Linked DNA regions of Homo sapiens: all the other regions are linked to region 1. The links are contacts of gene promoters, found by promoter capture Hi-C in blood cells and fetal thymus (Javierre and others, 2016). All regions are on one chromosome and are shown on one strand. Each heading gives the region's core, a stretch centred on a gene start or on the middle of the fragment in contact. The rest is flanking DNA. Distances are from core to core; before and after follow the strand shown. Region 1 holds the start of CEND1 (cell cycle exit and neuronal differentiation 1). Region 2 holds the start of LOC124902605. Region 3 has its middle 4.9 kb from the start of PKP3. Region 4 has its middle 21 kb from the start of IFITM3.

Region 1 (5,874 bases), core at 2,654-5,153:
CTGGGAGCTGGAGGTGTGAGCAGTGTCTGCACAGAGCCTTCTCTGTACGCTGGGCTCAGATCAACGGGCTCAAGGGATAGGCTGCCTCCTTGACTTCTAGGAGGCAGCAGCATGAGTGGGAGTCGAGGGAGGCTGTCGCAGGGCGGCCTGGGTGGGAGCAACAGTGTCGGTTTTAGCTGGTTCTACCCCGTGGGACCTCCGTATCTGTCTGGGCCTGGGTGTGGGTGCATGAACGAGGACTGCTGCTCTGGGGAGGGAGTGTGCCAGGTGCCAGAAGGGCAGGAGGAAGACATGGCTGTCCCCCCACACCAGCTGGAAGAAGGCTTGGGGGAGGAGGTGGTCAGGGAGCTCTTGTCTGCTGGCCTCAGCCACCTGTCGGGTGAGACCCAGAGCCAGGAAGACAGAGCTCAAAGGAGCCCTTCCCAGGCACCGCAGGCCTTGCTGCTTGTTGGCCCGCATGCTGCAGCCCCACCCGTGGCCAGGCCCACCAGCAGGCCCGCCGGTTGGACACCTGGTCAGAGTGGGCTGGGGTCCATGGATGAGAGGTGTTGAGGGGAGCCTCTTCTGCACTCAGGATGTGGGGCTCGCTGCAGTGGGGGCTGCGGAAGGGCCCCTGCCTGGCTGGAGAGCTCAGCCTGAGAAGCAGGGCTTGCCCTCCCCGCACCCCATGTCCTCACTGCTTCCTGGTCCTGTAGCCCCTGGGTGTCCATCTTGGGTCAGGACCCACAGGAAGGCCAGGGAGGAGGATGGAGCAGGGCCTGGGTGGCGATCCGGGCCGAGGCCCCTGGAATAAGGGCATAGGAGTGACAGGGGGTCCCGTCAGAGGGTCCTGGATGCAGCATCCCTCCCTGGAAAGCCTGGGGTGTGGGCGTGACACATGCGACCCTGCGTCTCCCAGCCACATGCAGATGAGGATGCAAGAGCAGCCTTCAGACGACAGAGTTTATTTCAGACTCAGCCTCCACTCAGGCCCGGGGTTCCTGTGGCCACTGGCCAGTGAGGGCAGGCCACGTTCTCACAGTGCCCACCACCACCTTCTGGGAGTTCGCCTGCTGCTGCGCGCCAAGGGCCACGCTGGGACTGGATGTGCTAAGGAGGGGCTGCACGAGGGGCTTCCCCAGGTGCAGTGGGCTGAGGACAGTGTGTGACGGTCGCCGCCAAAAGCAGTTCTACTCTACCTGTTATTGCATTATACGCTGGTTAGACTCAGGTGGTGCTGGGTGCAAGCTGGAGGGGCAGTCTAGCGGGGCAGGGCGGGCACAGCTGTGAGGGGCCCTCGACATCCCTGCCTCCCCGCCGGCGTCGGGGCTCCCCTGGAGCACAAGCTGGGGAAGGCGACCCTTGGGCAGCACCCCCTCCACACGCAGGCTTCAGGGCTCCGTCTTCCCACCCAGCTAGGCTTGGGTGGTGTGGGGAGGTGGCATTGAGGCTCTGCTGAGGTGAGTGCCCACCCCAGGTCCGTCCCACTGCATTCGCCCAGGCAGACCCCCGGGGGGTACGCAAAGAGCAGAAATGGGGCGAGTGGAGCCACCGCGCCCTTTAATGTCCCCACGAGGGCCGGGCCCAGGCCCAACCCATCCCGGCACCCCCACCTGCACTCAGACCAGCCCTGGGGGCCCAGGATCACCCAGCCGCCAGGGGTGGGGGGGGCCACACACAGGGTCCATTCCTTTCTTGCCGTTCCCCAGCTGTGCCCTCGCCCCACATCCTGTGCTGTGGACCCCGGAGCCTGGGCTCTTTCTGCCCTGGAGGTTGGGGAAGTCCTGGGTCAGCAGGGGTGGGCTCGGGCGTCCTCTTCACCGTGCGCGTGTGTTGGGGGCGTATGTAGGTGTGTAATGAATGTGCGTGTGTACGAATAGGTAAGGGTGAACTCTGCATGCACTGGCTTCCTCGGGTCTGTACAGGAAGTGGCTCCGTGCCCCCCGCCTGGCCCCCAGGTATTATTTTTTCCGGACCAGGAAGGCCACACCGAGAATCAGGGCTATGGCTGCCACGGCCACACCCCCAGCCACCAGCAGGGGGTTGAAGTTCTCACAGGACCAGGGACCTCGGCCCCCAGGCCCCCCACTGGCAGCCTCATCTTCCTCCGCCCCGTCCCCAGGACCCTTGGGCTCCGGGGTTGCATCGGGACTGCTGGGGACCGTGGGGGCTGGCTTCAGGTTGCTGTGGTTGTTGAGAAGGGCAGGGTCGGCCTTGGCCGAGGTCTTCTTGGCAGGTGCCGTGGTGGGGGCTGCTGGCGGCTGCTGCTTCTCGGCCGGGGCCTCCTTCTTCGAGGGCTTGGTCAAGGGGGCTTTCCCATCGGCTGCCGGGGGTACCTTGGCCTCGGTGGTGACCTGGGGCACCTTGGTGTCGGGCTTGGGGCTGCTGGCTGACTTCCCTCTGGACTCCATGGTGGGCGGGGCGTATGGGACAGGCAGGTGGCTGCACCAGAGGGGCTCAGGACAGTTTGTCGCCCCTGGGCATTCTATGGGCCTGGAGGGAGACACAAGGGAGGCTGCGCGCGGGTCCAGTCCCCCCTGTGCTGCCCCGACCACCTGGTCCCCAGGCAGCCCCTGCCCAGTTCTCTGGACTCTCTGGAGCCCCAGCTCAGGGGCCTCCCGTGGGCCTCTGACACTTCTCTTTCACGGCCTGGACTCCATCTGTCCATGACCACTCCTCAAGGGGCCCCTCCAGCCGCAGAGGCAAGGGCCACGCACAGGTGGGAGGAGGTAGGGGACCCCACTGTGCTCCATAAAATGGCCCATGCAAATGCCACATCCTCCCACCAGCCGGGGGCAGGAGGCTCTTGGTGGGGAAGTAAGGATCAGGCCCAGAGAACTCGAAGGAAGAGCATTCTCCCCTCCAAGGAGGTGATCGGAGCCCCAGTGGGAGAGCTGACTGCATCCCCTCCTCAGGAGAGCATTCCTGCTTTGCAGAGATGGACACTAAAGCACGGAGGCTGTGACCTGGCCAGGGTCCCAGGGGGAGGAGGGCGGGGAGGGGCAGGAGCTGGGATCTCAGGCAGCCATCAGGGTGGGTGGGCCCACAAGAACCCAGACTTGAGAAAACTGGGGTGTCTCTCCAGGAAGTCAGCGTGGGGCTGTGCTTCCAAGGGCCGTCTGCCCCTCCCCAGCCTCTGGGGCCCCCTCCTCAGCATGGGCCGTGCCTGCCTCCAGCCCTGGAGCAGGGAGTCCTCGCCCAGCCCAAGGCTGTGCTGTCTCTGTGGGCAGAGGGTTCCTGGCGTTAAACAGGGTGGGCACATGCTGCACTTGGCCCGCGGGTCAGGGCGGAGGACAGGGTTCTGGGCTGTGGGAAAGGCGGTGCCCAGATTCTCAATGACCGAGGCAGAGGTGGGAAGGGCCCTGGGGGCCCAGCCGCCCTGAACCTGAGTGGGTCTTGCCCCAAAGCCCCAGAGGCCGCCTGTCTGCCTCTCCCAGGGAAGGATGAGAAATGCCCTCCAGACCTGCAGAGAAAGGGAGGCACGTTCCCCACCCCCCGCCAGGTGCATTGACCACACTGAAGGTCACCCGAAGGTCACAGCATGATGAGGGCGTCTCCAGAAGAGGCCCAGCTGCTGCCACCTCCCAGGGAAGCCCAGCCGTCCCTTCACCCCTGCAGTTCTCGGGGGGCTCAGCTGCTGGGCATCAAGTTTGCAAAGAGCAGGTGGTCTGCCCCCCCAACCTCGCTATTTGTGGCACTTACATCCCGGCCGCCGCCTCCCTCTCCCGGGATCAACTGAGCCCTGGAGAACTGGGGGGCCCGCGCGCAAACCCAGTGACCTTCAAGGCCCGGAGCCGCCTCCTCGCCCCGCAGGACGCCGCGCCCGCCCCGCCCGCCCCGCCCGCCGGGAGCCCCCCGCCTTACGCGTCCTCCGGCCTCCCCGGGGCTGCGCGCTCCTCCGCGGGATGACGGCGGCTGCGAACGCGGAGGAGAGCTCGGGAGTTTCCCACAATGCACTGCTCCCGGCGCAGGAGGGCGGGGAGGGGGAGGGGCGACCGGGCCCCGCCCCGCCGGGAACCGTGGGATCCGCAAACCCAGCTCCGCCTTAGATCCAGGGGTAGAAACTTAGGGTCCGAGAGAGCAACTGCGGGGTCCAAGTCCCATCTGGGACTGCCAGAGGCAGGAGGCGGGTCCCGCTCAGCATCCCCTCTAGGCCAGGGTGCCCCTTGGTCGGTGGGTGACGGGTCGGTGGGTGAGGGGTCGGTGGGTGGGTGCGCAGGCCTAGCCCTGCAGTCTGAAGGGAGCCAGTTATGGGAAGAGGGGACTGCCCTCCCCCGCCCCCAAACAGACCCCCAGACAGACAGCAGCATCTACTTAGAATATTTATTTATTCTCTGACATGACAAGACACAAAAAGTTACAACTTCTTAAAACTCTTCAAAAGAAAAAAATATAATTCTGTAAGCAGCAGCAGCAGCTTCCAAGGTTCTGATGTGACGGGAGGGGCAGCTCCCAGGAGCAACCGTGAACTGGGGGGGTCCAGGCCTGAGCCCCAGGTAGTGTCGCTGGGAAGGGGCCTCTGTGGAGGGCCCCGGTTTTGGGGACACAGCACCAGCACATCAGGGTCTGTCACCAACACGATCACATGGCCAGGGCGGGGCAGGGAGAGCTTCGGCTCACAGCAGGGATCGCCCGGTGGCAGGGGGGATGGGGCTTCTGAAGTGTGGTCAGGGGCCTTATGCCCGGAGGCGGGAAGGATGGGGCTTCTGCAGTGTACCCAGGGGCCTTATGCAGAGGCTGAAAAAGGAGGGTGGGCCCTGAGAGGACTTGGGGGTGTGGCAGCTCCTGGCCCTCCCTCCAGAGCAGGGCAGGCACCCTCAGGCTCCACACTGGTCCCAATGCCCGCCCTGCTCCCTGGCCAATCCCAGGCCAGGGTGGAGGACTCAGGAGAGACCAAGCTGGGTAAGTTAGTTCCTGGACGGGGTCAACAGAGCCTGGGGCACACACAGCACACAGAGCGCCTGGCCACGGCGGGAAGGGGGGCAGTCCCCAGCAGCCCCATCCCCAAGGGCCAGGCCAGATCCCCACAACACACACACGCATGCACACACACATACACACACACATGCACACAGACCTCACAATCTGGGCCCCAGCCTGGGGTGGGAGCTGAGGAGCCCACCAGAAAGTCCCACAGTGGGTGGCGGGCTTGCCCCAAGAGTCAGACCTCAGGGCAACCCCTCACTTGGGATTCCTGGCTCAACAGAGAGGGCAGGAGACCCCAGTCCTCTTGCAAGGCTGGCCAGGGAGGCAGAGTCAAGTCCTGCCAAGGCGACAAGAGCGGCTGGGGAAGGACGGAAGGGCTGGAGAGCCGCTTGGGTCCAGCAGATTCAATAAATAGGTTTGTGTGGGGTGCCTGTGTGGGCCAGGATGGCTGTGGAGACTGGAGCTGGTGGACTGGGGGTATGGTCCAGCCTGCCCGGCCCAGGCCCGGGGGCCCCCAGCCCAGAGACCAGCTCTGTCCCTGGGGGTGTTCAGGCCAGGGCAGGATTGGGGCAGGGGCTAGCTTGAGGAATGTAAAGATTTCTGCATTTTCTACATAAATGAGACATTGATCCCAACGGTGCAGGCAGCACCCCGGGGGGCTTGCGTGTGCACCACCTATGTGGACCCTGCACCCTGCCCCCTGCTGCCCCTGCCGACGGGAGGGCTGGGGAGGGGTCTTCCCTTGCTCCGTCCTGGGCTAGCTGCCTGGCTCCAGCCCCACACCGGCCCTGCCCAGCTGGCTGGGGTGGAGCGGGTGCTGGGCTCAGGCCTGGGGGTCCTGCAGCAGCCCCAGCAGGGACTCCGCGATGCCCAGGAAGTAGACCACCTGTGCGATGCCGAAAAGGGGCGCGATGACCAGCGCGCGGCAGTAGGCGCCCTTCAGGAAGGCCGAGGGGCCCTCGTGCCGCA
Region 2 (5,654 bases), core at 1,913-4,412, 260 kb after region 1:
ATGGTTCTCCCTGGGTCACTCTGGAGGACCTCTTAAGGTGGACTTCTTAAGGGACCCCCGGCTCCCACCTTGCCAAAGAGCCTCCGAGCCACACCTGCCTCCCGCAGGCCTCCAGTTGGTGCCCACATGCAGCCCCCGCCGTGGGGTCACCCTGGGGTAAGGGTCTCTCCTCCCCTGCTAACCTTCTGCTGGGTCTTGGCATCCCTGGGATGAACCCTCCTGGCCTGGACCTTGCCGGCCCACATCAACCCCCAGCCCTCTGCTCCTTGGCCTCACCCACAGCCTGCAGAATGTAGGTGAGTTTCCTGATGATAATATAATAATAGCAATGATGATGATGATGATGATGATGGCAATAACAATGATGACAGTCAACACTGCCGCGTGCCGGGCTCTGGCCCTTTGCATGTCTGGGCCGGCTGTACAAGGCACTGCTGGGGCTCCCGGGCTGGGAGCCAGGGACAGGCACCGTCACAGCAGCCAAGGGGCCCCCCTACCACCCCAGCACCTGCTGGCCCTGAACCAGCTGCTCCTTGAGAGCTTTGACAGACTCTTCCGCTTGGCAGCATTTTAATCTGCTGGTGCAAGAGCCTTGTCGCTTCCTCAAAGCCTGTGCCCATGGCCGTGGGCAGCTGCCTGTCCCTGTATAGGCAGAGCTGCGTCATGCCCTGTGGCCCCAGGTCTGGCTCTGGGGTTCTGGCTGGGCGGGGCCTGGAACCTTCTGGGAGTCACCATTGACTGGCTGCAGCCACCGGCTTCCCAGCAAGGATGTCCTCTTCTGTAGGAAAATGGGGACGTCGGGAGCATTCTCTGGACAGCAGGAGATGCATGTCGACAGGCTGGCCCTGCCTCTTCCCACCCCAGAGTGGTGAGTGGGGATTCTGGGGACTTCCCTGGCCCCCATGGGCCTCGCGTGTCCTGGTGCCCATGTGTCTCCAGTCCCAGGGTCGGCCACGGTGTGGACCCCTCCACTTTCCTCCAGGCCTGAGGTGGGGCCCGGGCGGCCTGTCAAAGAAGAGCCCAGCCCAGACCCTCCCCAGATCCCTGGGGGAAGGAGGCCACCAGGCACCCTGCCTTCCTGCTGCCTGTCAGGGTGAATCTCAGGGGACCCTGGTGCAGGAGGGGCTGGCTCTGAGCTGGACAGGCCTCTGGGGTTGCCCTGGTGGCCTTCCCTCTCTCTGGGTCAGACGTGCCCAGGCAGGGAGGGTCCAGGCCATGACAGAGCCGGGCCAGCTGGGGACAGGGCATCCCCCAGTGCAATCCTTGTAGCGAACGGGTCCTAGAGTGCAGCTGGCGGGACACTCCCGCCATCACTGGATTTACTGCAGGTGGAGACGGGTTCTGTACCCACGTAGATGAGGAAACAGGCACAGAGAGGGGGCAGCCTGCCCAAGGTCACCGGGGAGGGAGTGGAGAGGCTGGATGCCCTTGGGCCCAGACTGCAGCCTCCCCTCCCCGATGTGCTGCGGCCCCAGTGTCCTGGGCCCCATGTGGCGCCTGAGCCCACAGGTGTCACCAAAGGTCTGAGTTGCGGGGACAAAGGCGGGGACAGGCCCGAGGTGCGGGGACAAGGGCGGGGATGGGCCTGAGGTGCAGGGACAGAGGCGGGGACAGGCAACCCCTGCGGTTCGAGGGGTAGGTGGCCACACGTCAGTCCCTGGGAGGGCCAGGCAGGAGGTGGGCCCAGCGGGGCTGGGAAATGAGGGGCCAGTGCCCCCACGCTCACTGCAGGGGATGTGAGAGGGCGAGTGGTCGCTCAGCCACACCCACACCCGTGTGTACAGGACCCACGCCCGCCCGCCTTGCTGTCCCGCCCGTGCACGGCTCACACAGCTTCTCCCATTATTCAGGCGCTGCCGGGCCCTGCAGGACTCAGATCGTCCCTGTGCCACTTGGCAGGGTCACCCTCACGCCTGCCCGGTGGCCCCACCTGCCCCACCTGCCCAGCTTCTCTCCCTTCTCAGTGCTGTCTGTCCCAGAGCCTCCCATCAATGGGGCCAGAGGGCTCTGGCCCGGCTGTGGGCTGACTGTTCTCCCCAAGATGCCTGAGAGCCACCCGGGCACCGGACTTGCCAACATGCAGGCACACGCAGGCACACACCTGGGCCACACGGCCCTGAGCACACGCCTTGCCCAGCCCTCCTCCGGGCTGTGGTGCGGGTGCCAGGTGCCACCTGCTGGCGGGCTACAGCATCACGGCTCTCGCCCTCCGGAACCTTCCATGGTGCCACACCAGCCTCTGGTCTGGCTGCAGACGGCTTGGGCTGGGCAGGGAAGCTTCCACTGTCGGGGAACCTGGGACCACAGTCTTTGCTCCAAGCGCCCTGGGCGGGTAGAGGCCAGGTCCGGTATGAGGAGCCCTGGTTCCCTGAGGTAGACAGAGCCAGGCAGACGTTGAGGAGACATGGGGGCTGTAGCCCTGGCCCCACTGCCCGACTCTCTCTCTGCATTTCGGGAGCTGGCAAGATCCAAGGGGGTCCCCAAGGCCCTGAGGCTGCACTGAGCACCCCTTTCCTGCTCATTTTCAGATGCAGCGGTGTCCTGGACCCCTGGGGAGAGGTGACCCCCCCAGCAGGAAGCTGGGCCTGGTTTCTGTCCCTCTGCAGCCACAAGGCCTGGCTAGGATGCTGGGAGCACCACACCCTGGAGACTCAGCTCACCAAGGACTCAGGGGCGGGGGCTCCCCTGGCACCTGGGAAGCTGGGCCCCCGGCCCCCTGGACTCCCACCCAGACACCATCTCAACCCAGGTCTGTCTGCTCTCCCCGTCACTGCCCTGGGTTCTCCACTCCTGGACCCGACCCTGGTCCTGGGGCAGTGTCCCAGCTGCTGTGTCCCAGGCCCCCCATCCACTGCCCTTGGCCCACCTTCTATGTGGCCCATTAGAGGGGTGTGGGGGCTGCAACCTGCTTCTGCTGAACCCCTAGGCCTGCCAGGGGGCATCAGGATTCTGCACAGAGAGGCAGGGGACCCGGCCAGACATGCAGGTACCCACGTACCTAATTCTGGGCCTTGGGGCAAGGACTGCGTATTTATCCTGGCCCAGGCAAGTCTGGGGGTGTCTGAGGGGTGGTGAGACGTCTGGGCAGATTGTCCCTGCCCTGCTCTGCTCTGCCCCACCCTGGCCAGCCCTCCTGGCTTCTCAAGGTGCTCCTGGCCACGATGGCACAGTCCCCCAGGCCCAAAATGTGCCCCCATGCTGCCCGAATGCCAGTGCGGGGGCTGGTAGCAACCAAGGCCATGCCCTCCCCTCCCCCTCCTGGGGCACCTGCCCCCACGCTGTGGCCATGGCTCCCTGGCTCCACCAGCTTCTTGTGACCCCTGAGGCTCCCCAGCTCCTGGCCCCCCATGGAGAGTTCCCTCCCCATAAGGGGGGGCCAGACACCCCCCTGTGCCCACTCCTTGGGAGACTGGCATTAGATCCTGGCTGTGGGACAGGCTGGGCCACTCTGGGGGTGAGACCAGGCTTCTCCCACCTGGGGGACCCATCCTGGCTCCGGACTTGGGCGGGTGACAGCCTGGGTTTCCTGTGTCCTCACCGCCCGCTTATCAGCAAGATGGGGATGTGGATGACAGGAGTGCTGGCCACGGAGGGCCTGGTGTGGGTGGCCGTCGGGACGAGGGTAGTGTGGGCGGCCACGGCAGTTGGTGCTACTGCTGGGAGGGGCCGAAGGTGAGGCCCTCCTGGGCTGTGGGTCCCTGTAAGCCACTGCCCCCGTGGGGTGTGCAGTCACCAAGCCGACCTGCTGCCGGGGTTCCGCCCCCTCCCTTTCCCTTCTGCTTCCCCGGCACCTGTGTCCCAAGCCTGAAGCCCTGTCCGTGTCAGAGGTGGCACCTCCCTGGGCACGGGCACTTGGACGCTGGTGCCTCCCCTGCTGCGGACCCCTTTGCTGTGGTCAGGGCCTCCTCCCTGCACTGGCCCCGCCTGTGACCGCAGGCCTGGCGGGGCCCTCAATGGCCACAGAGGGCACAGGCCGGGGCCAGGAGGGCACCGTCTCCTGGGGCACAGATATGCTGGAGTGAGCTATGGAATTGTCCATCAGCAGCGGCAAGCTTTGCTGAGCGCCAGCTGTATGCAGAGCAAAGGCGGGCCAGCCGGGAAGGGCCAGTGAGGACCTGGAGTCCCCAGCATCCCCAGGAGCCTGCACCCCTACGCGGGGGACGCCTGGGCAGCTCCTCCCTCCTCCACTCCCCGCCCTCTCCTCCCCTCCTTCCTGCAGTTCCCACAGCTGTTTGGGTGCCTCCCGTGGCGCCTGGTTGAGCTGCAGGGGGAGATGTGTGTGGACACTGCAACCCTCCCGAAGCTGGGCCTGGAAGAAATGACTTCCCCAGAACCTTATCTGGGCCGGAGAGGGGCGTTGGCAGCGGGGGTCTTGCCGCCTTCCGGTCCTCTGCATGCCAGGCACCACCTGGGGCCGGGCCAGGGCAGGCTGCCTGGACACCATGGACCTGCCCAGCTGTAGGGGAGGTGTGTCCTGCAGCCCTACCCGAGGCCCAGGCCTGCGTGGCTGAGAGGACTGAGGACGGCTGACCCCCTTGGTGACTGCCTGGGCCCAGAGGGGAGTTGGGGGAGTGGTCAGCTGGGTGTGGCCAGCCCTGGGGGAAGGATCCAGGGACTGTGTCCACTTAGGGATAGGAGGCAGCTAGCAGAGCCCTCCCAGCTGACCAGGGGAGGCCCTGTGGGCACAGGAGGGGCCCCAGGTGTAGGTACAGGTGCAGGGCTGTGCGGCTCTGTGTCACCCAGGTGGAGCGTCTTGCCCCGTTTGATGGCTGACAAAGTGCCCTTGAATGCGTCAGACCCAGCGTGGTCCCAGGGTCCTGACCCTAACATACCACCCCAAATTACCCTCACCCCAGCCTACCCCTGCCCTAAATTCACCCCAAGCCTCCACCCAAACCCCTTAGTCCCAACACCTTAACCCTAGACCCAACCCTACACCCCAAGCCCTAATCCCTAACCGCTAGCCTCACCCTAACCTTCCTACCGGATGCCACCTGGCAAACATCCTCCTGGCCCCTATCTGCCCCTCCCCCGGGGATCCGGGAGGCAGTGGGGTCCCTGGGAGGCTGCTCCCTGCAGAACGCGATGGACAGATGCATGGGCACCGGGCCCCAGCACCCTCTGGCTTCCTTCATCCTCCCCAGGCACTTCCCCCGGGCCAGAGGGCAGCCTGGCAGCCCTGGACTCCGGGAGGGCCGAGTCTGGGGAGCTGGACGACGTCACATTCCACTCTTGATGATGCCGCCCCAGTCCTACAATCTGGACAGCAGGAGAAGCTGCCCATTTCCTCCATCTCCGGTAATGAGAAGCAAATGCTGATCCTGGCCGTCTCCTGGCTCTTGGGTCCCTAGGTTCCTGCTGCCCCTGCCAGTTCCTGGAAGATGCCAGCAGGAGGGAGGGCAGTGGAGCTGGACTTGCGCCCACAACAGGATCTGGCCATAAACGCAGTCAGGGCGAGGCTGCGGGGTGGGTGGCTGAGCCTCCTGGTGGACTATCTCCCCTCCCACCCCCCGCCCTGGCCCGCAGCTGTTGGCTCTTCCTGGGAAGCCACAGCCTTTGTTTGTTCCTTGAAGGAGCTGGTGCGTTGCCTGCGAGCTCCTCTGCAGGCTTGGGGGTCGCACCTGCTGTCCACCCCCCTCGAAACCAGCTCCATC
Region 3 (5,905 bases), core at 435-2,934, 400 kb before region 1:
GGGCCCACCCATGGCTGCCCATGCACCAGTTGGCATGAATTTCCTCCCCTCTGAGGCCCATAAAAGCCCTGGGTTCAGCCAGAGTGGAGAAGAGGACAGAGAGACGACGGGATGACCAGCTGCAGAAAGGAGCTACCCTCACTAGGGCCTCCTCTTTGCTGAGCATTGCAGGCCTTGGGTCAACCAACTGCAGAGAGGAGTTACCCTCTCTGCTGATAGCTGCAGGCATTGGGTCGACCAACTGCAGAGAGGAGCTGCCCTCTCTGCTGAGAGCTGAACACTCGTTGGGACGACCTTCCTGCAGAGAGGAGCCACTCACTCCCAGCCTCCTCTCTGCTGAGAGCCTCTGAGCCGTTCTGACACTTAATAAAGCTCCTCTTCGTCTTGCTCACCCTCCACTTGTCTGTGTACCTCATTCTTCCTGGACACAGGACAAGAACTCAGGCAAAGGTGCTCCTGGCCACAGAGGTTTCTGGCCAGAAAAGCAACACCCCAAATATCCCACAACATGTTTGGGGGCTCGTCTGGGATCTGCACAAGGGTAAGTAAAAGTGGATCTTCTCTTTCTGTCCTTTCTTCGTGGTCCTTAAACTCAACAGCTAAAATGAAAGAAAAATACCAGGCCTCTGTCAATTAGTTAAAAGTGACGACTAGTCTCCAAGCACCAGACTCAACACATGGAGGCCAGGCTTGCTGGGGAGGACACTGTCAAGCCCCCATCACCCTCAGGTATTGGGAATGTTGGCTTTGTTCCAACCCAGTTTTCCTTCATGGAGGTCTAGCTGTCACGTGGGACCAGAAGGAGGTCCTAGAGCAACTGGGGGTATTTGGCTGAGGTTACCCCTTGGAGTTATCCAAAGGCCCCTGGACTGACTCCAGTCCCCAGCCTCCCATGAGGGTGTTGGCACAAAGACCTCCACTCTTTCCTATCATTCTTTTCTGTCTTTCTTTTGTGGCTGTCATGGTTCCTATCTCTTCTTTATGTACAATGTTAAATGTTAAGGATGTTGTTGCAAACCAGAAATATTACTGGGTAGAATGAGCATTTGACTGAGTCATCAAAACTATAAAATGGAAGGTTAAGAATAGCACAGACGAAGTAAAGTGTGCCTTGGTATCTGTATGTAAATTTGTGGCAAAAATGTTCTTGTTATTTCCTTGGCCGCCAACTTGGTGCCAAGCACCTTGAGACCCAGAAAAGAAGCATGGTCTCAGGAAGGAAGCTTTTCTGTAAACGTGAGACCCAGAAGAGAAGCATGGTCTCAGGAAGGAAGCTTTTCTGTAAGTGTAAGACACAGAAGGGAAGCATGGTCTTGGGAGGAAGCTTTTCTGTAAATGTGAGGGCCAGTGATCCCAGGCCTCGTGTGTGCAGGCTTTCTTTGCCTTGCAGGGTAACTTGGACCTTTGCCTCTACTGTAGGATTGATCCAGCCCTCCTGGTGGCCATCTCAGGAGAGGCTGCAAGAGGCAATCCCAGGGAAATAGAGAAGCAAACCCCAGAGGCACCTCCAGTGGAGGAATCAAACCCTTCACTCCTCCCTACTCAGGTTCTCTCTCAAGCTTTCCCCAGCCTAGAAATCCTCATTTTAGGCCATTCTGAGTCAAATTAAGGGGGATCTTGGCAAGTTTTCAGATGGCCCTGACAGATACATGGAGGCTTTCCAGAACTTAACCCAAGTATTTGAGCTCTCCTGGAAGGATATCATGTTACTTCTGAATCAAACCCTGACTGCTGAAAAGCAGGCCACCCCGCAAGCGGCAGAGAATTTGGGGGATGAGCTGTATATCTTATATAGGGCCAGGGAAGAAGAGAAGCTTTATCCAATTGGATGAATAGCAGTACCATTGGAGGACCCTAAATGGGACCCCAGTGATAAAATGGGAGAATGGAGGATGAAACACTTTCAGATGTGATACTGGAGGGCTTGTGAGGGAATGGGACTGGGCTTCTCATTGCACTTGGCTGGAGGGCTTATGAGAGAAAGGGGCTGGGCCTCTTGATTGCACCAGGCTGTCCATGGTAGAGCAGGGATTGGCCCCACTGCCTTCCTGGGGGATGGCAGGGGCCTTGGTGAAGTGTGCCTCTCTGTCTCCTGACTCAGTCAATGAACGGCTGGTCCTAGGGGATGAGGAGATGAGTTCATTGCACAGGCGGCCCCTGATGTCAGAAGGAGGATGCGGGAATGGGCTGTGGGACCAGATGGTACTTTGGGGGCATCCTGGGAGGGGCCACCTCAGTTTTTTCCAGTGGGAACCGGGAGGAAGTCCAGAAAAGAGAGAGGAGATATAGGAAGAAGGCAAAGGCTCTTAACAGCTGCCCTGTGGGCTCATGGACCCCAGGATCCCTAGATACACCTGTGACTGCTGCAAATGTGTTGGGCTAGGGCCCCACAGGAGGGTTTCCAGACAGTGCAGGGAGGAGGGTCCTTCATGAGGGTTTCCACACAGTGCAGGGAGGAGGGTCCTTCAGGAGGGTTTCCACACAGTGCAGGGAGGAGGGTCCTTCAGGAGGGTTTCCACACAGTGCAGGGAGGAGGGTCCTTCAGGAGGCTTTCCAGACAGTCCTGGGAGGAGGGTCCTTCAGGAGGGGCTTTCCAGACAGTGCAGGGAGGAGGGTCCTTCAGGAGGGGCTTTCCAGACAGTGCAGGGAGGCCACCTTGACCCTGTCCAGTTTGCCTTGGGGACTGTAGGGTCCAGCCCTACGGGGCTTAGTGGGTGTTCTCCCCATGTGCGGAGACCAGAGATTGTAATAAATAAAGGCACAAGACAAAGAGATAAAGAGAAAGCAGCTGGGCCTGGGGGACCACTACCATCAAGACGCGGAGACCAGTAGTGCCCTGAACGGCTGGGCGCGCTGATATTTATTGCATACAAGACAAGGGGGCAGGATAAGGAGGGTGAATCTTCTAAGTGATAAGGTGAAGCAAGTCACCTTACGGTGACCCTTCCCTCTTAGGTAGCCGAAGTAGAGAGGAAAGGCAGCATACATCAGTGTTGTCTTCTATGCAGTTATAAGAACGATCAAAGACTTTAAGACTTTCACTATTTCTTCTACCGCTATCTACTACGAACTTCAAAGAGGAACCAGGAGTACGGGAGGAGCATGAAAGTGGACAAGGAGTGTGATCATTCAAGCACCACAGGGAGGGGGTTAGGCCTCCGGATGACTGCGGGCCAGGCCTGGAGAATATCCAGCCTCCCACAAGAAGCTGGTGGAGCAGAGTGTTCCCCGACCTCTCCAAGGAAAGGAGACTCCCTTTCGCGGTCGGCTAAGGAACGGGTGCCTTCCCAGGCACTCGCGTTACCGCTTGACCAAGGAGCCCTCAAGCGGCCCTTATGTTGGCGTGACAGAGGGCTCACCTCTTGCCTTCTAGGTCACTTCTCACAACGTCCCTTCAGCACCTGACCCTATACCCACCGCTTATTCCTAGGTTATATAGTAATGGAACAAAGAGTAATATTAAAAGCTAATGACTAATAATGTTTATAATAATGATTGATAATTGTCCATGAGCATCTCTATATCTAATTTGTATTATGACTATTCTTATTCTATTTTCTTTATTATACTGAAACAGTTTGTGCCTTCAGTCTCTTGCCTGGGCACCTGGGTCATCCTCCGCCCACAGGGGACCGCTGGAGGACAGACCATCCCTGGAGACGTGGGTTGCCGGACCTCGGGCCAGTCTCCCAAATGGTACAGCAGGACTGATGGGTCCCCAGCCTCCTCTCCCCAGCTACAGTCGTCCAGACCACCATTGCCATCCAGGAACCCCAGGGATTGTAGGGGTCAAGGGAAGGAGGATGGACCTCGTCCTGGACTCCAGAGTTCTCCTCTCCAATCTGGGCCCCCCTCCCCATCTCTTGGCACAACTGTGAGTGGCATCTCAGGCCTCCTTCCTCCACCATGTCAGGAATCAACACAGTCTTGTGAATACAGGGACCTCTCCATGGAGGGGTTAGCTTTTTTCCTTTCAGAAGGCACCTTCTTAGGCCAGGCCCCCGATTCCCAGGACTTCCCTCCTCCGCCTTGTTTGAGGAGGACCTGGCCCCACAGCGCCACCTGTTTATAACAGGAAAGCAACAGGAGCGGCCGCCACCTGTTAGCAGCTGCAATTTGGTGAGGAACACTTGGGGCTAACTGAATGGGTCCACACACCGTCCTGAGGCCAGACCCCAGGAGAACCCCCGGGAGATGCCCCGCCTGCCTCAGACAGACGCCCCCTTCCCCAGAGGAGCGCCGGGGTCCTGAGGCCAGACCCCAGGAGAACCCCCGGGAGATGCCCCGCCTGCCTCAGACAGACGCCCCCTTCCCCAGAGGAGCGCCGGGGTCCTGAGGCCAGACCCCAGGAGAACCCCCGGGAGATGCCCCGCCTGCCTCAGACAGACGCCCCCTTCCCCAGAGGAGCGCCGGGGTCCTGAGGCCAGACCCCAGGAGAACCCCCGGGAGATGCCCCGCCTGCCTCAGACAGACGCCCCCTTCCCCAGAGGAGCGCCGGGGTCCTGAGGCCAGACCCCAGGAGAACCCCCGGGAGATGCCCCGCCTGCCTCAGACAGACGCCCCCTTCCCCAGAGGAGCGCCGGGGTCCTGAGGCCAGACCCCAGGAGAACCCCCGGGAGATGCCCCGCCTGCCTCAGACAGACGCCCCCTTCCCCAGAGGAGCGCCGGGGGCATAGCAAGAGCCCGGGACTCGTCTGATGAACGAACAAGTAGTGGACGGACAGATGGACAGACTGACCAACAGGCCGGCAGTGGACGGGGTGTGTGCAGATGAAAGGTGTCCCCCCCAAGAGCCTACAGGGGCCATACCCCTCAGCTACTTTCCATGCCAAGGACCAAGGCCAGAGACCTCAGAGCTGCCCCAGCCACAGGCGCGGGGCAGGGGCCACACTCCACAAGGTGAGGGGTGGTGCCCATGGGCAGCCGGGCAGGCTCCGTGGAGGGGCTGGACTTGGCTGGAGCCCAAGTCAGAAGGTTTGCAAGCGTGGGCGCCAACAGGAAGCGCCAGGACGCTTGCCTCTGGGTGAGCTGTGCCCCCACGCCGGGTCCATCAACCACCAAGGGGCTCCCCTAATGCACTCCGAACCCCGCCCCTGCAGGCGGTGGGACCTGAGGCAGCCTCCCAAGCCTCTCTGTGCACCGGCTCACTCCTGAATTCGGCTTTGACTATATTTTGCTTCCAACGTCCTCACACCTTTCTCCCCAGATCCTCCCCCTTCTGCTCCTTAAGACGACCACCCCAACCCCCTCCACCCACGCAGGCTCTGCCCTGGAGGTTTGTCTTCTGTGCCCTCCCACAACTCCGGGCACGCACCTGGCAGCTCTGCCCACGACCTGGGCCCAGCCGACCTTCTCTGTGAGCGCCTCCCGTGCCCCCCACGCTGAGCCCACCATGCCCCGAAGCCCTCCTGCGCCCTCTCCCACCGCCTCTTGGGAGGTGACTGACAGGCCACACCCCACCCAGGACCCATCTAAGAGCAGCGCTCACTCACCCTTCGAGGCCCTCAGGTTCCAGGCTCTCAACCTGATTGTGCACCCAAGCGGCCCGAGGCTCCGTGCAGATTCCGGGCCCCACAGACAACCGCTTCCTCCAGGAAGCCTACCGTCAAGCCCCCCTCCAGGGCTCCTGTGTCAGGAGCTGGCTCCAGGGAGAGTGCGACCCTCAGGGCTGGTCACAGGGATCAGATGAGACTCCGCCGAGCCTGGAGCTGGAAGCTGCAGCGGTGGCCTAGCAGGCATCGCCATCCGTCTGGCCCGGCCGCAGTGAGGGAAGGTGCACCCCAGATTCCTGGCTTTGCCAAAACTGTGCCTGGCGGGCACCACGCATCCTCAGGGAGGCGCCGCAGCTCTGGGGGGGGGCACCCACAGCCCTCTCTGCCAAGGGGAGGAGGGAAGGTGGGCAGAG
Region 4 (5,846 bases), core at 194-2,693, 450 kb before region 1:
GGCTTTCACCATGTTGGCCAGGCTGGTCTCGAACTCCTGACCTCAGGTGATCCGCCCCCCTCAGCCTCCCAAAGTGCTGGGATGACAGGCTTGAGCCACCACAACCAGCCTCTTATAACTTTCCTTACCCAAAATTCGCCTTCCTTTGTTTGTATATTCTGCATACAGAGCTGCTTCCCTTATTATTTCTCGTAATTTTAATTACCATATAATTAGAATTCTAAACACTTAGTAACTTTAAAAGCTTTTCTTATCTTTTTTTTTTTTTTTTTTTTTTTTGAGTCAGGGCCTTCTTCTGTTGCCCAGACTGGAGTGCAGTGGTGCTATCACAGCTCACTGCAGCCTCAACCTCCCAAGCTCAAGTGATCTTCCCACCTTAGTCTCCCAAGTTGCTGGGACCACAGGCATGTGCCACCATGCCCAGCTTTTTTTTTTTTTTTTTTTTTTTGAGAGGAGTCTCACTCTGTCACCCAGGCTGGAGTGCAGTGGCGCGATCTTGGCTCACTGCAACCTCCGCCTCCCGGGTTCAAGTGATTCCCCTGCCTCAGCCTCCCGAGTAGCTGGGACTACAGGTGTCCACCACCATGCTCAGCTAATTTTTGTATTTTTAGTAGAGATGGGGTTTCACCATGTTGGCCAGGATGGTCTCAATCTCTTGACCTCGTGATCCACCCACCTCAGCCTCCCAAAGTGCTATGATTACAGGCGTGAGCTACCACACCCAGCCCAGCTAATTTTTATTTTTGGTAGAGATGGGCTGGTCTGGAACTCTTGGCTCAAGTGATCCTCCCACCTCAGCCTCCCAAAGTGTTGGGATTACAAGCATGAGCCACCACACCAGCTATTAACCTTGGTTTCTAGTGAAAACTAGCAAGTAAACACTTGTCAACTTTTTGCATACATACCAACATTCTGCAGATTGGCAAATCTGTGAATATACCATGTCATAATTTCTAGAAGTGTGTGTTTCTTTATCATACAATTTTTCAATATGGCACAGGATGTGTTTGCTGGCAGAGACAAGTATGTTTAGTACTTCTATAATAAGAAGCCAAAAGTAGACAAGCTTATGTTTAGCAATCAAAGTTTCAGTATTTTATGTTATTCAAAAAAAATAAGGTTTAAAAAATATCTTTCTAGATAGTCGATGAATAACCATCATTTAATTTAACTTGACTCTAACAGTGCAAGCTACCAAAGAGAATCGGCAAGCTGCTTTTAAGTAGATGTTTCATAACAGCAGACAAGGCTAGACATCATCAAATTGCTTTTCTTGGTGGCAACTCTTGTAACAGAGATAACATAAGTTTTTGCCTAATAAACCTAGGTAAAACCAAAGTTGTGTGTCTGCGTTTTATTTAATGCTGACAACTCTAAATATTTCATTAAACCAGAAAAGTTTAAATAGCATTTATTTACCAACTATAATCTCAGATGACATGAAATTTAAAAAACATTTGGGTTAGTTTCTATATTTCTAAGAGTTTAAGGATAACTCAACTTATATAAGCTCATATTTTTCTTTAAGCCAATTAAATACCACTTTTTTATAAATTAATTTTGGCAACGCAATCTAGAGTAGGAAAATGTCACGTGTACATGTATACATAGACATACATAAACATACAGACAGAAGCAGATCATATAGCTTTCTTTTTTTTTTTCACACTCTTCAGACACTAGAGTGTTACAGCTTCATTCTAAAATCTTAGCCACATGCCAAGCACAGTAATACAAAACACACTGTTTAATACAAGAACAATAGGCTTCAAATCTTGTTTCTGGCACATGGAACAAGTCAAAATTACTTGCCAGATGATTAAAGCTTTTATTAATATTTGCGGGAAAGACTTAAGGTTTTTCATTTGCCCAATTTCCATATAGCTCTTTTTTTTTCTTTTCTCATAAGATGGCTTCCCAAAATTTGCATATCAAAGAGATAACCCTCAGGTGTTTGAGCAGAGTAGAAAATTTACATCTCAAAGGCACAGAACTTAGACTTCAGCCTTAAATATCTTCATTTGAAGAAGAGAAAAAAAGAAAGAAATGAAAAAAAGAAAGAGAAAGAGAAAAGAAAGAAAGGAAGAGAAAAAAAGAGAAGGAGAAAGAAGGAAGGAAGGAAGGAAGGGGAAGGGATGGGAAGGGAAGGGAAGGAAAGGAAAGAAAGAAAAAAGCAAGCAAGCAAGAACAAGGAAAGAAAGAAGGAAGGAAGGGAGGGAAGGGAAGGGAAGGGAAGGAAAGAAGAAAGAAAAAAGCAAGAACAAGGAAAGAAGGAAGGAAGGAAAGAAAGAAAAAAGAAAGAAAGAAAAAGAAAAGGAAGGAAGGAAAAGGAAAGAGGAGGAAGGAGGGAAGGAAGAAAGGAAGGAAAGGGAAGGGAAGAAGGAAGGAATGAGAAAGAAAGGAAGGAAGGAAAAGGAAAGGAAAGAAAAGAAAAGAAAAAAGAGAGAGAAAGCAAGCAAAGCGCTAATTAAGCCAAGATGGGGGTCAGAAATGCACGCTAAGTAAAGGTAAGTTTTGTGATGTAGATTTAAATCAATGCTTTCTCCATTCTTTTTTTTTGTTGTTTACTTTGTTTTGTTTTGTTTTGTTTTGAGACAGAGTCTTATTTTACAACCCGGCTGGAGTGCAGTGGTGCGATCATAGCTCACTGCAACCTCAAACTGTTGGTTAAATTTCTTTGTAAAGATGGGGTGAGAGGGTTTGGATTTGTGTCCCCACCCAAATCTCATGTCAAATTGTAATCCTCAGTGTTGGAGGAGGAGCCTGGTGGGAGGTGATTGGATCATGGGGGCAGACTTACCCCTTGCTGTTCTCAGGATAGTGAGTTCTCATGAGATCTGGTTGTTTAAAAGTGTGTGGCACCTCCCCCTTCTGTCTCTTCCTCCTGCTCCAGCCATGCAAGACGTGCCCCCTTCCTCTTCACCTTCTGCCATGATTGTAACTTTCCTGAGGCCTCCCCAGCCATGTGTCCTCTTTTCTTTTGCCTTTTTTTTTTTTGAGACACAGTCTTGCTGTGTCACCCAGGCTGGAGTGCAGTGGCGCGATCTCAGCTCACTACAACGTCCACCTCCCAGACTGAAGCAATTGTCCTGCCTTAGCCAGCTGAGTAGCTGGGATTACAGGTGCACGCCACCATACCTGGCTAATTTTTGTATTTTTAGTAGAGATGGGGTTTCACCATGTTGGCCAGGCTGGTCTCAAACTCCTGACCTCAACCTGCCTCAGCCTCCCAAAGTGCTGTGATTAAGGCATGAGCCACCACACCCAGCCTAAACCTCTTTTCTGTATAAATTACCCAGACTCAGATAGTTCTTTACAGCAATGAGAGAAGGGACTAATACACCGACTCTTACTATGTCACCCAGGCTGGTCTTGAACTCCTGGGCTCAAGCAACCCTCCTCCCTCAGCCTCCCAAAGTGCTGGCATTATAGGCATGAGCCACCACTTCTATCTCCTTTATAGAATTAAATTTTTCTTACAAAGGGTCTCAAAAGAATTGGATCAAAATAATCTTTATGCCAGAGTAGCACATTTGGGGCCTACGTTGGCTAGATCAGAGGCTTCTCAGCCCAGTTTATGCTTTTTAACTCCATCACTGAGTTCAGGGTGGCGCCTACTGATGAACTGGCAAGCATTTTCCATGCCTGGAGTTAGCATGAATAGGCCAGGATATAATTCTACATCATCAGCAAATTTCTGGGACAGGGAAACCTTTCACTATTGTTCTGAGCTCAGATTTTAATCAAGATGTCAATGTGGTTAAAGAAGGAAGGCCTGGTTGATCTAAAGGCCTAACACGATGAAAGTTTGGCTAACTTTCTTTTTGCCTCTGGGGTATAAAAGTTACTGAGCAAAAAAGTGAGTAGTTCAGAGCAATCTGGCAGAGCAAGATGGAGAGAAAGAGAGAAGGGCTCATCTGTGCTGAGTCAGTAGACATGCCCTTTTTCATTGTCAATTAACTGCTTTGGTTTTCTATTTGCCTTTTTCTATGGAGTCTTTTAGAGAGACAACTTGGGATTCATTTAGTCTTTTAGCAGCCTGTGCATGCCAATCAAAAAATCATCTGGGCATGGAGGTTCTCGCCTGTAATCCCAGCACTTTGGGAGGCTGAGGCAGATGGATCACTTGAGCTCAGGAGTTCGAGACCAGCCCGGCAACATGGCGAAAACCCATCTCTACTAAAAATACAAAAAATTAGCTGGGCTTGGTGGTGCATGCCTGTAGTCCCAGCTACTCAGGAGGCTGAGGCAGGAGAATCACTTGAACCCAGGAGGTGGAGGTTGCAGTGAGCCGAGATCACACTACTGCACTCCAGCCTGGGTGACAGAGTGAGACTCTGTGTCAAAAACAACATGTGAATTAAAAAATGCATTCCATTTTCTCTTAGTTGCTTTGGATCCCATCTTTTGCAGTGGATACCACAGATGAACAGCTTTGTCTAGGTCATCACTTACCCACTGCGGCCACCACTTAATTCTAAGGTGTCTTTGGTAAAGTTCACCAGTTTCTCTAGACAAGTACTGGTTCTCAGGTGGAGGAATCTCAGACTCTGTGGATTCAGATAAACTCATTATTCTGTCTTCCCAAACCCTTACCTATGTGAAGATGCCTACTAGGCCCAGTTCAGTTTCTGATAGATCCAGTTTGACGCTAGATCTAGTCTGGATTTTTTTTTTTTTTTTTGAGACTGAGTATCACTCTGTCGCCCAGGCTGGAGTGCAATGGCACGATCTCGGCTCACTGCAACCTCCGCCCCCCGAGTTCAAGCGATTCTCCTGCTTCAGCCTCCCGAGCAGCTGGGATTACAGGCACCTGCCACCACACCTGGCTAATTTTTGTAGTTTTAGTAGAGACAGGGTTTCACCATCTTGGCCAGGCTGGTCTTGAACTCCTGACCTCGTGATCTGCCCACCTCAGCCTCCCAAAGTGCTGGGATTACAGGCATGAGCCACTGTGCTTGGCCCTGGAATTTTTTTTTTTCTTTAATGCTCAAATAAAGTTGGAGATCTTAGGATGAAAGTTGTGGAACTTGCATGAAGTAGAAAAATTAGGCCAGGCACGGTGGCTGACGCCTGTAATCCCAGCACTTTGGGAGGCCAAGACGGGCAGATCACCAGGTCAGGAGATCGAGAACATCCTGGCTAACACAGTGAAACCCTGTCTCTACTAAAAATACAAAAAAATTAGCTGGGCGTGGTGGCAGGCGCCTGTAGTCCCAGCTACTCGGGAGGCTGAGGCACGAGAATGGCGTGAACCCGGGAGGCAGGGCTTGCAGTGAGCCAAGATCGCACCACTGCACTCCAGCCTGGGCAACAGAGTGAGACTCCGTCTCAAAAAAAAAAAAAAAGGCAACTGCCTTCTTTGTCTGGTGCTCAGACTTTCAGGACGCATGTCTGCTGAGCCGGTGTACACCTTAAATAAACTCTCCTTCACCCCGTTCCATCTCTCCAGCTTCCCGATTTCCTGCAACAGCATCCAGGAGGGATCTACTGGTGGGGATTCCACATCAGCAGCAAGAAAGCAGTGAGTACAGAGGCTCCACAGGCGTCCACACCAGATTCTTCATTGCTGCCAGGTGTCTTTATGGCCAGGAGGAGACTCTTCCAGGTCTCCCTTCTGACACCTGAACTGCTAAAAAGATAAACAGACACATTAAAAAATTTTAGGGTCTATTTTAGCAAACAGCAATTCATGAATTGGGCAGCTCCAAACTGCAAGTCATTCAGGGCTCCCGGAAAACATTTACAAGGTACACATGGAAGCAAAATTTATAAAAAAAAATTGGGCCCGGCGCGGGGGCTCATGCCTGTAATCCCAGCACTTTGGGAGGTCGAGGCGGGCGGAT

What was found. Contacts are between HindIII fragments. The CHiCAGO score rates a contact against its expected background, and 5 or more counts as called.
Region 2: a fragment that was not itself captured here is called in contact with the fragment with the promoter of CEND1 in region 1 in 4 of 17 cell types (erythroblasts, naive CD4 T cells, endothelial precursors and 1 more); the score reaches 5.4 in erythroblasts.
Region 3: a fragment that was not itself captured here is called in contact with the fragment with the promoter of CEND1 in region 1 in 5 of 17 cell types (total CD8 T cells, naive B cells, naive CD8 T cells and 2 more); the score reaches 6.5 in total CD8 T cells.
Region 4: a contact is called between a fragment that was not itself captured here and the fragment with the promoter of CEND1 in region 1, in 1 of 17 cell types (naive B cells). The highest score is 5.3, in naive B cells.

What each region holds. Positions count from the first base shown.
Region 1 is chr11:786,187-792,060 of GRCh38, forward strand. CEND1 (cell cycle exit and neuronal differentiation 1) reads right to left here and starts at 3,904. Exons shown (of 2, transcript NM_016564.4): 1 at 3,844-3,904; 2 at 929-2,472. The coding sequence starts at 2,390. The coding sequence ends at 1,941. SLC25A22 (solute carrier family 25 member 22) reads right to left here. Exons shown (of 10, transcript NM_001191061.2): 10 at 4,289-5,874. The coding sequence ends at 5,729. RefSeq lists a silencer at 3,815-4,044. The HindIII fragment of the contact is 25,064 bases long and covers 1-5,874 here.
Region 2 is chr11:1,049,095-1,054,748 of GRCh38, forward strand. It overlaps LOC124902605, which reads left to right and starts at 598. Exons shown (of 4, transcript XM_047427955.1): 1 at 598-680; 2 at 785-868; 3 at 2,529-2,749; 4 at 5,145-5,654. LINC02688 (long intergenic non-protein coding RNA 2688) reads left to right here and starts at 786. Exons shown (of 4, transcript NR_160890.1): 1 at 786-868; 2 at 2,529-2,749; 3 at 5,145-5,298. The HindIII fragment of the contact is 1,775 bases long and covers 2,276-4,050 here.
Region 3 is chr11:386,320-392,224 of GRCh38, forward strand. No RefSeq gene overlaps it. Among named protein-coding and RNA genes, the nearest start is that of PKP3, 4.9 kb to the right of the region's middle. The HindIII fragment of the contact is 255 bases long and covers 1,558-1,812 here.
Region 4 is chr11:338,795-344,640 of GRCh38, forward strand. No RefSeq gene overlaps it. Among named protein-coding and RNA genes, the nearest start is that of IFITM3, 21 kb to the left of the region's middle. The HindIII fragment of the contact is 759 bases long and covers 1,065-1,823 here.